4 separate regions of the Homo sapiens genome follow, and regions 1, 2 and 4 are each linked to region 3. Evidence: promoter capture Hi-C in 16 types of primary human blood cells and fetal thymus (Javierre and others, 2016). All regions are on one chromosome and are shown on one strand. The core of a region is centred on a gene start or on the middle of the fragment in contact, and the rest is flanking DNA. Distances in the headings are between cores, read along the strand shown. Region 1 overlaps MBD4 (methyl-CpG binding domain 4, DNA glycosylase). Region 2 overlaps ZXDC (ZXD family zinc finger C). Region 3 holds the start of SEC61A1 (SEC61 translocon subunit alpha 1). Region 4 holds the start of HMCES (5-hydroxymethylcytosine binding, ES cell specific).

The links. The method cuts DNA at HindIII sites, captures the fragments that hold promoters and counts their contacts. A CHiCAGO score of 5 or more calls a contact.
Region 1: a contact is called between a fragment that was not itself captured here and the fragment with the promoter of SEC61A1 in region 3, in 1 of 17 cell types (activated CD4 T cells). The highest score is 6.6, in activated CD4 T cells.
Region 2: a fragment that was not itself captured here is called in contact with the fragment with the promoter of SEC61A1 in region 3 in 4 of 17 cell types (naive B cells, total CD4 T cells, total B cells and 1 more); the score reaches 10.2 in naive B cells.
Region 4: a contact is called between the fragment with the promoter of HMCES here and the fragment with the promoter of SEC61A1 in region 3, in 4 of 17 cell types (non-activated CD4 T cells, naive CD4 T cells, naive CD8 T cells and 1 more). The highest score is 7.8, in non-activated CD4 T cells.

Annotation. Positions count from the first base shown.
Region 1 is chr3:129,433,238-129,436,023 of GRCh38, forward strand. MBD4 (methyl-CpG binding domain 4, DNA glycosylase) reads right to left here. Exons shown (of 8, transcript NM_001276270.2): 4 at 825-899; 5 at 613-747; 6 at 1-10. Among named protein-coding and RNA genes, the nearest start is that of MBD4, 5.3 kb to the right of the region's middle. The HindIII fragment of the contact is 1,207 bases long and covers 648-1,854 here.
Region 2 is chr3:126,469,070-126,473,343 of GRCh38, forward strand. It overlaps ZXDC (ZXD family zinc finger C), which reads right to left. Exons shown (of 10, transcript NM_025112.5): 2 at 3,084-3,236; 3 at 2,904-2,982; 4 at 1,826-1,956. Among named protein-coding and RNA genes, the nearest start is that of ZXDC, 4.7 kb to the right of the region's middle. The HindIII fragment of the contact is 321 bases long and covers 2,288-2,608 here.
Region 3 is chr3:128,050,046-128,054,327 of GRCh38, forward strand. It overlaps SEC61A1 (SEC61 translocon subunit alpha 1), which reads left to right and starts at 2,392. Exons shown (of 12, transcript NM_013336.4): 1 at 2,392-2,514; 2 at 2,790-2,857. The coding sequence starts at 2,508. LOC102723759 (a long non-coding RNA gene) reads right to left here and starts at 2,130. Exons shown (of 4, transcript XR_007096073.1): 1 at 1,917-2,130. RefSeq lists a cis regulatory region at 1,957-2,573 and a silencer at 2,066-2,705. The HindIII fragment of the contact is 3,738 bases long and covers 1-3,657 here.
Region 4 is chr3:129,277,301-129,281,548 of GRCh38, forward strand. HMCES (5-hydroxymethylcytosine binding, ES cell specific) reads left to right here and starts at 1,570. Exons shown (of 7, transcript NM_020187.3): 1 at 1,570-1,605; 2 at 2,410-2,615. The coding sequence starts at 2,433. It overlaps COPG1 (coat protein complex I subunit gamma 1), which reads left to right. Exons shown (of 24, transcript NM_016128.4): 24 at 1-473. The coding sequence ends at 124. RefSeq lists silencers at 1,425-1,774, 1,785-2,174 and an enhancer at 2,595-2,724. The HindIII fragment of the contact is 5,702 bases long and covers 1,344-4,248 here.

The DNA of each region.
Region 1 (2,786 bases), core at 1-2,500, 1.4 Mb after region 3:
GCCATTTTGCCTGGGAAGTAAAAGTAACTGAATGATTACAAGACTCCAGGTGGGCTGATTTCATGTTCAAGTAGTTTCTCATAGAAATCTCATCCAGAGGGTTTTTTTTTTTAAAGAAAACAAAAAACAAAAAAACACTGGTGAGAAGCCATTATCTGAACCAGCAACCACTTTCAGAATCAAATGCCAAAACTGCTAATATATTGGGCTAATAGTCCAAATTATGCTGAAAACTGGCCTTGCATGATTAGCTTTTAAATGATCAGATCAGCAGATAATGAGAGTAGAAGCATATAGAACACAAGGTACATTCAGTGAAAAAGATACTTTTAAACACACATGAAAGAGGGTGGAGAAACGTTAACTGATTTTCACTGATGATCAAAAAGAATTTGGAAGTATAAAATAAATAAAATCTACCTCTTTATTCTAAAAGGTCTGTTGGATGTCATCCAGTCTCATTTCCTCATAGGTGAAGAGTTTAAGGGTGAAGGGGGAATGCCCTATCCCAGGTGACACACTCAAAATGGACTTTGAACCCAGGCCTCAATTCAGTGCTTTCTCCCTACCACACTGTCTCTACTAAGACAAAGATGATAATAATCCCCAAACCTGAGGTCCGATTGAGAAATATAGTAGCGATGAGAAGCTTCCATGGATCATGAAAAAGTGTTTCTTGAACGAGATTAAAAGGTGACCGAGGAGGTGTCCATTTCTTAAAGGCTTTACGTCGTGGGGGGCTAAGAGCTAAACAAACATAGTGCATCAGAATTGAAAACCCAAAATGGAATTAGAATTTGCTGTTCTGATTGGGAAAGGGATACCTTCTTTGTTATATTTGCTGGAAAAATACAGGCTTGTTTTCCTTCTTTCTATCTGTGTTCGTGGGATGGTATCTTCTGAAAAGGAAAAGTAAACACTTTATGGAGTCTATGGTTTAGCTTAAAGCAATATTGAGGGATGCAAATAATAATATCAACACTATTACAAAGCATGCCAGGCACTATTCTAAGCCCTTTACATAAATACCCAATTAATCTAACTAATGACCCATGAACTTGGTACTATTTTTATCTCCACTTTACAGATAAGGACATTGAGGCACAGAGAAGCTAAGTAACTTGCTCAAGATCACACAGATACTAAGTGTCCCAGCTAAAATTCAAATCCAGACAGTCTGGCTCCTGAGTCCTCACCTTTAACCACTCTGTGACACTAGTTCTTTATGACTTATGTTCAGAGTTTATAGTATTGAAAAATTAAAGGCAGTATGGAATATTTTAAATTACGATGCATTTGTATAATGTGGTCATTAAAGTATTTTTTAGACTATTGTGAATATTTTCCTATTAACTTCTAAATGAAAAAGCAAGAGTCTACATATGATCCCAATTTTATAAAAAAGGGGAAACATATATAAATAACAATACAGAAGTTAAGAATGAAATAAGCCAAAATGATATAATGGTTGTTGCCAAGTGCTAATTTTTCTTTCCTTCTTTACTTTTCTGTATTTTCCAAAATTTCTGCAGTGAACACTTACTTTTACGCTTACCAAAAAAAGGGATACAGACAAAACAGAATCTGCAGAAAAACCTACAATTTGAACCCTAGAACACCTGAGACAACTACCTATTGAGAACCTCTATCTATTGGGAACCAGTGTTATCAGACTTCTCAAATTTCTAAAATCACATGTAATACTCCTTAACCATACCCTCGCAATTTGAATATCAGTTAATAATACCTTGCATTTGTATAGCATCTTTTTCACTTCTCATTTTACAATATTTTTGATGTGAAAAACAGGACTAGTCAGGATGGTTACCTCTATTTTACAGATGAAGAAAGTGAAGCTTCTAAATGAAGCAATCATCCCAAAATGATACTGGGATTGACTATAAACTGGAACAAGTATCCAGGTCTCCAGATAATTAGACTACTGTTTTTTCGCTATTTTAGTTTGAGTAGGTAAAGCCCAGTAGAGAGTAAAAAAAAAAAAGAACAAAGGAAACTGCTCTGACTGCTCTGATTTGACAACTTTTTCTGTGGGCTCCTATGAATAATTACTAGTCTCCTTTATGCCAGGTTTACTTGGCAATTTCTAGCTAAGCCAATGGGTGTCTTCACTATTTCATGGACACCTCGTACTAAGAGTACTTCATCTCATGTTGAGAACTAGACTCTTACCACAAAAAAAAGTTTTTAATATTTGCCCATTTTGCTAGCAATAAATCTACATAAACCTCAAAGCTTTCTTCAAGAAGCTCAGTGTCTAGGACACAGACTTGAAGAATTCTTATGCAGTTCCTAGGTATATATGGCCATCTTGTGTTAAAGGCAGAGAAACTCCAGGCACAGAAAAGACATAAAATCATGGGTAGAACTGGGAACAAGAATCAAACCTAATCTCCTGCTTCACAAATTTCTCCAGGCTGTTTCCCCACAGGAGTTTAAGTAAAATTATTATTCTTTAAAGGAGTTATTCATTATACCATAATGGCATAATGAATAACTAATACAGGGCTGCTCAAAAGGTCTCCCTTTTATCTCTTATTCACTGAGGTATTATAAAGACAAAACTGCTAAGTTCTGAATTCTGTATTAAGAGCATATTACAAATAATAGATGAACTATGTGATTATACTTTTGAATTATTTAGAGCTCTAAAGCATTTTAGAGAAGCATTACATTAAAATAGAAGATAAAAATGACTATGATATATACAAAATTAAATTGGAAGTCACACTTAGTAGTAAGTATCAGGAGGGGTGTGAAGACACCAA
Region 2 (4,274 bases), core at 1,198-3,697, 1.6 Mb before region 3:
ATTCACTTTACAGATAAGGAAGAGGCACAGAGAGCTTCAAGTGTTTGTCCGAGGCCCCAGACCTACTTACGTGGCAAACTTAGGACTCGAATCCAGGCAGTCTGACTCCAGAATTCAGGCTTTTGATCAACTACACTACCCTGACTCTCCTCCATTTATACTCTTCTTTGAGAATTTCATCCACTTTTGTGGCTTAAATGATGATTCGGGTGCTGTCTGCTTCGCTCCCTGCCTGGCCTGCTCTCCCCAGCACCAGTGGCACATCCCCTGCCCTCTGCGCATTAGACGCACAAGGGTACCAAAAACACAACATGTCCAAACCAAACTCTGCTTCCTCCAAATCCACTCAGCTGACACACTGACATCAACTAAAATCCAAATCCATCACCATATACTGTGACTTCTAACTCCCACCTCTGCTATTGATGCCCCTTTCTCTTTTCCCACTGTTAAGGCCCCCGTCCAGGCCATCCCACCTCCCCACACCCCTGGCTGCTTTCAATCCTGAAGCCAGGCTAAGCCACAACTCAAACATGATGACATCATACGCTCACCCAAGCACTCAAGCCTGCCACTCCTGGCCCTGAGAGGCTCTCCCAGGCCACTCCGCCTCCAACACCCACACGCACGTGTCTGGTGCTCTCCCCTCTTCTTCAGCTGACCGCGAGGCCGTTCTCACCCCGGTCTGGGGAAACTCTCTGCGCCCCTGCAGCACCCTACATGTTACCTGTTCCCCTGTCTGCACCTCCAGCTGAAACTCTGACGGAAGGAGGAACTGTTTCTCAGTTACACCACTTGTATATATGTTCATTATGTTCTAAGAGCTAGGCTCAGCTTTAAATGGGTCTTTATTATTCTCTCTTCCAGGTAAGGAAACCAAGGCCCAGAGAAGCAGCTTGACTGAGGCCACCACTTTAGGGAGCGGTAGAGCCAGACTTTGAATCCATGACCACCCGACGTGTCCTGGCTCACTGCCTCCCAGTGCACCTGCAGAACTAGAGTAGGGCCAGCACGCACAAGTCACGCACAGGTCACGCAGCCAATTTCTGGCAAATGAACTGAGCCTTCAGTGTTTTAAAGGAAAAAACCACTCTACTATACCTTTTAAAAAGTCAGGTTGGGCGTGGTGGCTCACACCTGTAATCCCAGCACTTTGGGAGGCCAAAGTGGGTGGATCACTTGACGTCAGGAGTTTGAGACCATCCTGGCCAACATGGTGAAACCCTGTCTCTACTAAAAGCATAAAAATCAGCCAAGCGTGGTGGCATACGCCTGTAGTCCCAGCTACTCAGAAGGCTGAGGCATAAGAATCACTTAAACCTGGGAGGCAGAGGTTGCAATGAGCCAAGATCACACCATTGCATCCAGCCTGGGTGACAGAGCAAGACTGTCTCAAAAATTAAACAAAAAAAGAAAAAGTCAGTCTAGCTTTACTGCTCTCCAATTACAAAATGATTGGAGTGACAATTCAAACGTGATCTCAAAAGTACCTACCATTTACTGAGTCCGAGCTCCATGCCAGATGGATAAACAGGCATTTTCCACATTTCACCTAATCCTCACGACCACCAAATTAAACAGGTAACTTAACTAGAGCCACAGATCTAATGAGGATCAGGGCCATGAGTCAAACTGCGTCTGATTCTCAAGTCACTGCTCCCAAAATAGTACAATTAACTCAATGAGGTAAGTAAACATAATGCTGCAACTTATATTGAGTCAGTCTTTAAGCAGCTAACATTTACCTTTAAACAACGGAAACTTAACAGGATAAATGTTGGCATTGCACTTAGTTTACTGCTCAAAGCAATGTTTTAAAATCTACCTTCCACAGGACACTCGAACGGCTTTGTGCCTAGGTGGGTTATGCTGTGGCCTTTCAGATGCTCTGCTCTGGTGAATGATTTCCCACAGCCCTCGACAGGGCAGGTAAACCTCCGGTCATCGTCATGTTTCCTGCCAGACAGAAAAATAAAGGAGCTGTGATTCCTCACACAACTCACCATAATTCTTTAAAATTCTACAAAACATACCAAAACACAAACTTTGCATTTACAAAAATGATCAGTACATTTCGGAAAATCTTAATTCTGTCTTTAATCCATGTGAGCAGATTTGCAATTTAGCTACCCCATAAAAATTCTACTTTAATGACTAAGCTGACCCCAGAGTCACACATCAAACAATTAATGCTACTTCAATCTAATATAAGCTAATCTAAGAACAGTGGAGTCCCAAATGTATTGATGAAGGTGTTTCTATTGTTTAGAAACCCCAATGATCAACAAGCTTTCCGAGCGACAGACGGTCGTGAGAAATGTGCACAGAGCATCAGCTGCAATGCCAAAAGGACTCTCTTAAGCCAACTTGTAAAGACTGTGTCTTTTCCTAAGTGACATTTTTATATTAAATCCTCAGAGCCCAGCTGTGCAAGTACAGAAAAACCACTGAATCTCTCCGAGTCTCACTGTAAAACAGGGAGAATAAGAACATTAGCTTTGAGGTTGTTGGGAAGGTAGAAGACACACATGTAAAGTGCTGAGTGTCACCTGGACACAGTCTCCAGGGTTGTCATTACCACCATGAAAACTTGTAATTACATGAAGAAAGCTTATTCTACAATGTTAAGTTAAAAAAAAAACCTGGAATTGTTTTTTTTTTAAGAACAGAGTATGCCAATTTAGCTTTTTTTAAAAAAAGTATACACAGAAAAAACTGACTTCAGGTGATGAGATTCTGAGCAATTTTCTTTTTACAGTTTTCTGAATTTTCCAAATCATCAACACTGAGCTCCTTTTTTAACAACTTAAAAAATGTCTACAGATATTTCATTCATTGGTTTCTGCTGCTGACAAACCACTCATTTTCAAACCTGATAATGCAAACCAAAATGTAAGGATTACCTTCTGTGCCTTAGAAGTTTGGACATGCTGGTGAAGGTCCAGCCACAGCTGTCAGAGTCACAAATAAATGGTCTTTCACCTTATAAAAGAAAAAATTATACAGCATAAAATTTACAACTCCAACAGCTACGATGAAGACAAATCTTGGGTCCAAATGCTGTGCGTTCCCTAGCTCATTACCTGTATGGCTCCGCAGGTGAATTTTCAGCCGACAGGCTTTATCATACTGCTTGCTGCACCCAGGAAAGGAGCAGGAAAAGAGCTCTTGTTCCCTGAAGTGGGCTCGGTTATGGGAAAACAGGGCACTCACTGTGATAAATGTCTTCTCACAGCCTGAACAAGGAAAACACAAACCCTGCTCAAAGCGTGGCAAAAATTATACAACATAGCTAATGCTAGTCACACCCACCAGACCCTGTTCACACTGAAGCAGACAAGGGAAAACATGACTCAGAAGCACTCTCTAAAAAGGGAAGACCATTAATGCTTGGCTTTGTGATCACCACAGGAAGGCAGCTAATGGCAGCCAATAGGCACACGCTGGCCACCTGTTGCAACATGACTTGGAGATGGAGCAACCGATAAAGAGAAAGTCCTCCGTTCACAGCCATCTACTGGCCGGCTCCGGAGCACTGATCCTGCACACACACTGAGACCCAAGAACCCCATGAGAGAAATCAAATACTAAGGAACAAGATTTTGTCTGGTAGGGTTGATCTTTGAAAGGCTACAAATCATCCTACTAGCCAGGATTTTTCACCCCTTGGGGGTGATGCTGCATCCTCTACATATCCAAATTTCCTCCCTGACACCCTCCAACTGCCAGCCCTGTCCCTTGCTGTTTGGATTCTTTTTCCTTTCGCAATTTCCTTAGGTTCCCTGCTTTGTAATCTTCACCTCAATCCTAACCCCTGGCCAAAGCAGCTAAGCCTCAACAATTCCACAGCAATACTTCTCCTCCGACAGAAACATTCAGGGCTCCAACAGGGTGGAAAACATGAGGCTGCAGGATGTTTAACAGGAGTCTTTGCTGCAGCTCCTCTTGGAGCCTTTAACGAGATACTATCATGCCTATGAACTGCCACACAGATGTACATGGCATAGCACTGCCCAAAAGTATCAGCCCAAGGAACCCTACTTTCCCCAGCAACATCTAACTCAGAAATGCTGATCTTTGGCCTCAATCTGGTCCCAAAATACCTCCAGGGTATTTTGGGCTTCGGTGTGTTCACACACTTGGTCATGTAAATCTGAACACAGACTCTCTCTGCCTTGGCAAGAACCCCCCACACCCCCATAGATAATTACACCCTTTGGTTCTCCCTCTGCAATCTCACCTGCTAGAGACCCTCATCATTCCCACTCCCTGGC
Region 3 (4,282 bases), core at 1,142-3,641:
ATTTCTGTCACTAGCAATGTCAAATTTTTGGTTGAAAAAAATTATTTTTTCACTACAAAACTATAGATTTTATGTAATAAAGTTTATCTTATAAATTATAAATTTTATTTTGTGCTGATTCTTAAACAGTATCAAAAGAAGTTCCAGGCGGGGATTCATTATTATTACAAATTTCTTGTTTATTCTTCTGCAGATATCAAGATTTACATTTATCATACTTAAAAGTATTGAAAATTCATCCAGATTTTTGTGGTCTCTTTCATTCTAGGTGGATGTTTCTAATATCCTATAATAAAATCTTAAATGTATAAATATAAAACACTGCATACCTATTTTCCGAAGAATTAATGTATGTGCTTACAATAGAAATATTTTATTATTTTTTGAGACAGAGTCTCACTCTGTCGTCACCCAGGCTGAAGTGCAGTGGTGAGATCTCAGCTCACTGCAGCCTCGACCTCCCAGGCTCAAGGGATCCTCCCACCTCAGCCTTTCCAGTAGCTGGGACTACAGGCATGCGCCACCATGCCTAGCTAATTTTTTTCTGTATTTTTTTCTAGAGACAGGGTTTTGCCATGTTGCCCAGGCTGGTCTTGCACTCCTGGGCTCAAGTGATCCTCTTGCCTTGGCCTCCCGAAGTGCTGGGATTACTGGTGTGAGCCACTGCACCCAGTCCAATAAAAATATTTTAAACTAGTGATTCTCCTAAAGCAATCAGTGATTTAACACACGTAACTTGGCTGCAGTCCCTGCAGTGACACAGGCCAGATTGTGTCATAATGTGGAAACAACAGGAGGCCTGTTATCAATGGTACTGACATCCTACAACTATTAGCACAAACCAATGAGTTTATATTAAAATTTCTATTAACTAATTGTAATATTTATTGTAATTACTATACTATTTACCCTCGAAATATTTCAACATTTTAACCATCAATATGGTGCAGGGTGCATAATGGCTAAATATCGGATCTAGTCTATATGCTGAACTTAGTCCAGGGGCTGCCAGTTTTAGCTTCAGGCCAAAACTCCAGAAGAGATCATCAGTGGGTCCTGGAAGTGAAGATGGGTTGCATTTCAGACTCTGAATAAAGAGTCAATGTCTTCTTTTTCCCCTTTTTGGTGGGGGATGGATATCAAGTGATGTCACACCTAGACCACTTCACTGAAGTTACCTGCCTGTTCCCAGTAGTCCTTTGAATTTTCCACCAGTGGGTTTGTATTCCAAAAAAGACTTCCTGTCCTGTCCAACTTTCTGAGCCAAGAATGTACAAAACCTGATTATCTGCTAGAAATGGGTGAGAATGGAAAAATCCAAATAGTTGACACCTAAATTAAAAGCAAAAAAGCATCTTGCCACATATGTACCCTCAACTTCTACCTGTCCTGGTCAAGGTTTAGCTCCATGAAACCTTGCCTGATCCCACAAGGCGTGCCCACCTCCTCCCTGCTAAATGCTCACAGCATTAAGTCTGTTTCTCTTAGATGACATCATACCTACTGACTACAGATGCCTGAAAGTAAATTCCAACCCCCAGCCCCAGCATCCCTTGCCCTACCCGTTATCCCCCTTTCCCACACCGATCTTAGGCAATCACACCGCCATGCTTTGCCCACAACAGTCTCCTCAACCTGTTCCCTCATTCCTTCTCGCCAGAATCTATCAAGGCTCGGCACAAAGGTACTCTCCCAGGAGGCCTTCCTGAATTCTTCTGTGAGGCAGACTACTTCCCGAGCTGCCCCGGCCCTTCTCCGGCCAAGTCTCTCCAGAAACTCATCCCATTCGTTCTCAGATGGAAGGGGACCCACACCCACGACAAGCCTCCGGGTTTGCTTAATGACTCAGACAGCGAGGGTGCTCGGTAAGCCCCACCAGCCCGCGCCCTACTCAGCAGGTAATGACGGAGACCTACTAGGTGACGGGCGCCGCGGTAGACGCTGGGATAAGGTCCCTGCTCCAGGGAGCTTACGGTCTATTCACTAACGTCAAAGAGCAGTGAGTGCTGTTACGTGTATGGGAGCCACCAGGGTCTCCGCCTGCCTGCAGGGCCACGCGCGCACTCGACGCTTCGCGCCTGCCTCAGTTTCTCCGTGAGGCCGCACAGCCCCAGTCTCGGGAGGCGTGACACACCCTCCCCGCGCGCTCTCGCGTTACCAAGTCTGCGCAGCCGCACACCCCCAGTCCCGGCGGGCCCCGCGCGCCAGGCCCCTTCCCGACAGGCCCCAGGAGCCCCGCTGCATGCCGGGGCTTGAGGTCTCGGCGAAGCGGCGCGGCGCGGCGAAGCGCGGCGGCCGGCGGGCGCGCGTGGCAGGAAGCGGAAGCGATCCGAGGCCCGGCCCCGGCCCCGCCCCGCGCCGCGCCGCGCCGCTTGCCGCCGGGCTAGCACTGACGTGTCTCTCGGCGGAGCTGCTGTGCAGTGGAACGCGCTGGGCCGCGGGCAGCGTCGCCTCACGCGGAGCAGAGCTGAGCTGAAGCGGGACCCGGAGCCCGAGCAGCCGCCGCCATGGCAAGTGAGTCCTGTAGGGAAGCCCTATTGAGGCCGGGACGGAACAGATCCCCCTTCCCCACACCCGTGCGGTCGGGCGCCCGCCGGCCAACCCTGACCGGCCCCCTGCAGAACGCGGCCCGTGCCCCCGGCCCTTCTCGAGTATCCCCACGCGTCCGGGGTGCGGCCGGCTCCCCTGGCCCCTGCTCTCACTCGTCGTGGGCAGAAGGCGTCCCTGGGTAGCGCGGAAGGTTACTTCTCTGTGTCCCAACTCTTCCTGTTTTGTTTCTCCCATCAAAGTCAAATTTCTGGAAGTCATCAAGCCCTTCTGTGTCATCCTGCCGGAAATTCAGAAGCCAGAGAGGAAGGTAAGTACCCCAAATCGCCAACAAAGAAGGTTTCAGGAAACTGTCTGGACTCTGGAAGTTTACAGTATGATTAAAAATGGCTTCAGCACGGCAATGGAAACTCTCCCTTCTCTTCCCTTGGAGTGTAGTTGTGCTCTGTTATTCCGGAGAGCTGTCGAAAGGTGACCTGGTTGTGTGGAAATTTCCACTGAAATCACTGTGCTTTATTTGGAGCATCTTTGGTGGATGTTGCTCCGAGAACAAAGCCTCCGGTTGCCCTGTCCCAAAAATGGATCCGGGCCATGAATGAATAAGGCCTCAGTTAGGATAGCAGATTGAGTTACCCTCCCTTTTTCACCTCCAACGGGAGCAGATCACGGGTTGGTTTTTTTTCCCAGGAGATGCCCTTTGTATCCAGCTGCTAAAGGGAAGGGCTGTCACTTTAGTATTTACAAATGATTTTGTACCTTTTATGTAGGCTGTCACAATAGGGGGAATAAAGGCTATTCTTTTGTGAAGTCTGCTGCTTTTCACAGACGGTGTATTAAAACAAGGAAAGATTAAATTTAGAGCTGTGCTGAATCAGAAATTGTGTGGAGTGAGTGTTGCCAGTGTAACTACAGCTGTCAACGAAAAAAAGTTTCATTAGGTTCCTAGGTTAGAGAGTGGGGAATAAAATGTTTGTGTCCTCACATTATTTTTCAAACTGTTGTTAAAGCATTCACATGGACACTTGGGTGCTTGGAATCCACTTTCATTTTTTTACGTAAAATAGTTTCATATAAATGCCCATGTGCTGCTTTTAATGGACGAATTTGTAAAGCTTTACCCCCTCAATTCCAGTGTAGCGAAGGGGCATGGCTCTGGAGGCAGGCAAGCCTAGGTCCCACCCTTTACATAGCACCTTAATAGCTATGTGACCTTGGCCTTGTAACTCAGTGTGGTAGACGGAACAAGGGAAATACGTGCAAGGTATAGCAGTGGCTCAGGAAGGGATTAACTCTGGGAGACATGATGTCTTATGGTGGTTTTGAAGGAGAAATAGAAGTCTCCTTGAAGGGACGGAAAGGAATTCCAAATAAAAGGAGTATATAGTTTGCAAAGGCATTGGTGACAAGAGTGTAGCATGTTTGGATGGGAGGTTATTAGATGTAGTTGCTATTGATAGAACATAATTGTAGGTGGGGAACATTAGGAGATGAATAACAAGGGCCAGACATGAGAATGTCACTTTGGAAGAAAAGGAGAGGACTAGAGTTGGTTTAGAGGCTTTTCACATCAGAGGATGAACTGTGGTACTGAGCAAGAATGGATTTAGGGGCTACTAAGAAGCAGAGGAGACAGGACTTGGATAAAGAGCTTTTGGGGTTTTGATGTTAAATTTGATTGTAACCAGGAGAGAGGACTTGGTGATTAGAAAGGGAGTTTTGAAAAAATTGTCTGCTC
Region 4 (4,248 bases), core at 320-2,819, 1.2 Mb after region 3:
CCGGGGTGGTCATGACATCCTGGTGCGCTCCCGGCTGCTGCTTTTGGACACAGTGACAATGCAGGTGACAGCCAGAAGTTTGGAGGAGCTGCCAGTAGACATCATCTTGGCATCTGTGGGATAAGAGGCCAGCCTGCATAGGACCTCATACCCTTCCCCAACACTACCTGGAAGTTGTGCCTTCCTCATGAAACTGGCAGAAACCCCTTCCCAAGCTTCTGTATTGAAAAACAATTAGGAATCATTGCAGATTTTTTTTTATTCTGCTCCCACCTCCCACCCGGGACTACTTGCTGGTGACTTTTTTTTTTTTTTTTTTTAAATAGGGGATGATTTTAGCTTGTCCTAAATCTTGCTGTCCACCCTTCCAGGAAAGGGACATTGTAAATGAATAAAACATTCTCAACTCCTCTTGAATCTATCCCCCAAGAAACCATCTTATCCCTGTAATAAATCAGCATGTATTTATTGAATGATTGCTACTTCTGCAGACTCATGCTTCAGGGCTCCACCTTCCCCTTCAAGGCCTCCCCTAAAGAGGCAGAACACCTGCCCTGTCCCCCTTGCACCCACAGCCCTTTGGCTGTTGTAGTCCTGTGAGGCAGGACCCTCTCCCCGTCATCGCTGTCCCAGCACCAAGCCCAGGGGTGGGAGCGGTAGAGGGTGGTTGAGTGAATCAGCTAACAGGCAGAGTTCACACTCCCTCCCGTTCGTGCTTCTTCACAACGCATCCTCCTTTGATAGTCGATAAATGGAGGCTCCAAAGGGCTTGGGTCCTGTGTCTGATCGTTCCAGCATCTGGTCTTACATGGAGTGTGCCCTGGGGTTTCTGCTCCCTGTTCAGTTCAGCGAATCAGCATAGGCGAACAGCCCTCTAGAGCATTCTCTGTTGGTTGCAGATGAAGAATCTCCGGTTTAGGTCCCAAGGGGAGCAGGCTTTTAAACTCAAGCCAGGCTATTTTACCAACTTTGAGGCCAAAGTACACCCGAAAGGGCTGTTTTAAAAATCTGGGCCTCACCCTTAGAGATTCAGCTGAGGGGCTGGGGCAGGAAAGGCTTATTCTAGTGCCCACCAATGTTTGAGGGCGAAGTGCGCGATTCCTGGAAGTTCTTCTGACTTTCATTTCTTCAGTGTTCCTCCATTTTTGCCTCGCACTGTGAGGCAGCTGGCAGGACTGTGAAGTAAGGAGTGGAGTTTCCTGGTTTCCCGCCTTCCATGACCCTGTGCCCTAGACTCAGCGCGGCGGGAACCTTCCCTGCCAGCCCTGAAACACGCTGGGGGCGGGGAGGAAGGTTAACCCCGCCAGGGAACGGCCAATATGGAGGAAAGTGGAGTCCCGAGAAGCTTGGGATCGATATGTCTCCCAAGGCAGTCACTGTCTCCTGGGGAAACGGGAGAAAATTCATCCCAAACCGGAGGGGAGAAGACGCCGCCTCCGGGGCCCGAGGGCACCGCGGGAACCAAGGGCCCTTGGGGGCGGGGCCTGGCGCCGGGAGCGCGGGCTGAGGCGGGGCTGACGTGAGGGGCGGTGACGCGGGTGGCCAAAGCGGAGCGGAGCGGGGGTGAGGAGAGTCGAGGGAGGTGACGCGCGCTGCCGGGGCGAGGTGAGGGGAGGGGAGGCGACGCGGGCGGTCGGGGTATGGCGAGGGGAGGGGAGGGGAAAGGAAGCGACGCGAGCTGACAGAGGGGAGCAGAGGCCCGAGCGGACGCGAGGCGACGCGGAGAGGGCGGCCTGGGCCGAAGTGAGGCGACGCGGGGCGGCGGAGTCTGAGGGCCGGAGCGGAGCGGAGGCGACGCGGGGAGGGGCGAGGGATCGCGGCCGGTGGCTGGGGGCCACCTGCTCCCCGAGCACCGGCCCCCGCTCCGGGGAGCAGAGTCCGGAGCGGGATCCGCGGCCCACAGGTTCGCAGGTCGGGCCCGGGGACGCTGCGGACTAGCGGGCGGGAGGCGGGGATTCTGCACCCCGGCCCCGGGCCGTCCAGTGGCCGCCCTCGAGGTGACCGGTTGCTGGCCGGCGTGGGTCGCTGACCCCAGCGGGGACTGGGGGGAAGGACGGGGAGTTGGGGGCACCAAGTCACCCGGAGGAGGCGACCCCAGCTAGCTGCGCTTGCCCTGCTTCGCTGGACTGTGAAGCCCCCTCCGCTGCGGCTCTTCCTGCGCTCAGGCAGGCATTTGCAGAGCTCCTCTCGGGACTTGCCTCAGTGCCCTGCACGGAGCTGGGCAGTGGGCTCAGGGAGCGAAGCAAACGGGCACATCCTTGTCTTTGTGGGACTTTTTGGGGAAGACTTTAGACGGTGGTCACGGAGGGGCACGGCCCTGTGGGAACGGAAAGAGAAGGCGGGGACTCAAGGAATAAGACCTAATATTTGAGATACGTAAGCCTTTTCCTTACGTTTTGTAATTTAAAGGTTGCGAGGGGCGGTGTTGAAGAATGTGTGGGCGAACATCCTGTCACTTACCTAGAGATGTTCTCACGAGAGCTTGCGCCTACCAGGATCGGCGGGGCCAGCAGCGGCTCCCGGAGTGGAGGGACCCTGATAAGTACTGCCCCTCTTACAACAAGAGTCCTCAATCCAACAGCCCAGTGCTTCTGTCTCGACTGCACTTTGAGAAGGTAACCAGCATTGCACTATGCTAGCCCCTCGCCCAGCCTCGTGATGGTCATCTCCTATTTGGTTTGGTGTGTGCTCAGCCTCTTGGGATGACATTAAAAACCAGCCTTTACTGATATATTCTGACTTCCAGTTGAGAACCTCTCTTGGCCTCATGAAAGAAGTTTTATCAGTGGCTTCTAACACTGATAAAGACGTATTTTTCAGGCTCAATTTAAATGCCTTTGCTATACATGGCATACTAGCCTTAATATATGCCAAATTTATATGAGCTTTGTGTTTTAAAATAGCAGCTTTCACTGATCATCAGGGTCATTGGAGTATCTTAAAAATATAATAAAAAAATTTAAGGCCAGGTGCCATGGCTCATGCCTGTAACCCCAGCACTTTGGGAAGCCGAGGTGGGAGGATCACTTGAGCCTAGGAGTTGGAGACCAGCCTGGGCAACATAGGGAGACCCCATCTCTACAAAAAATAAAAAAATGAGGTGGGAAGATCACTTGAGCTGGGGAGGTCGAGGCTTCATGAGCCATGGTTGTACCACTGCACTCCCACCTGGGTGACAGATCAAGACCCTGCCTAAAGAAAAAATTTAAAAAAATAAAAAATTTAAGAATATTTCTATGCCCTTTACCAGGCCAGCTTAATCAGACTTCTCTAGGCCTAGGACAGGCTTAAGATCAGTTAATTTAAAACACTTCTGATGTTTCTTGAGCATTGAAAAGTTTTATTCTTTCTGCTTGTGTTTTCAATCTTTTTGTGTTTGTCTTTTACTAAGGCTAGAAACACGTATTTGGTTTGGTTATCTGAAGTTTAATTGCATTCATTGTGTTTATAGTATTTATCCCTGTAGTGTTGGAATTACCAGTCACTTACATTCATATTTTAGTTTTTTGCCTTATCTCCTGAAAGTGTGTGTGTCTTTGTATGTGTGTGTAATAAAAATGCTTCGTTCTAGAAAGTAATAGTTTCTCCATGTCTTAAATATTTTAAATGACCTTGACATGTTTTTAAAAATCGTGATTGTTGGCTGGGCACGGTGGCCCACGCCTGTAATCCTAGCACTTTGGGAGGTGGAGGCGGGCGGATCACGAGGTCAAGAGATCGAGACCATCCTGGCCAACATGGTGAAACCCTATCTCTACTAAAAATACAAAAATTAGCTGAGTATGGTGGCACGCACCTGTAGTCCCAGTTACTTGGGAGGCTGAGGCAGGAGAATCACTTGAACCTGGGAGGTGGAGGTTGCAGTGAGCTGAGATTGCACCACTGCACTCCAGCCTGGCGGCAGAGCGAGACTCCATCTCAAAAAAAAAAAATTGTGATTGTTTCCTTCCTGAATTTTGACTGTATTTGATTCATAATGCTGAAATCACTTTATAAAGTTGATTATACCTCTGGTACATACTCTTTAAACTTTTGTGATAATATGATAGTCAAAAAGGACTCATTTCTGCATTATAGGGAATCACATCATTTTGAAATAAAGATAACAGGCTGGGCATGGTGGCTCACACCTGTAATCCTAGCACTTTGGGAGGCCAAGACGGCTGGACCACCTGAGGTCAGGAGTTCGAGACCAGCCTGGCCAACATGGTGAAACCCCGTCTCTACTGCAAATACAAAAATTAGCTG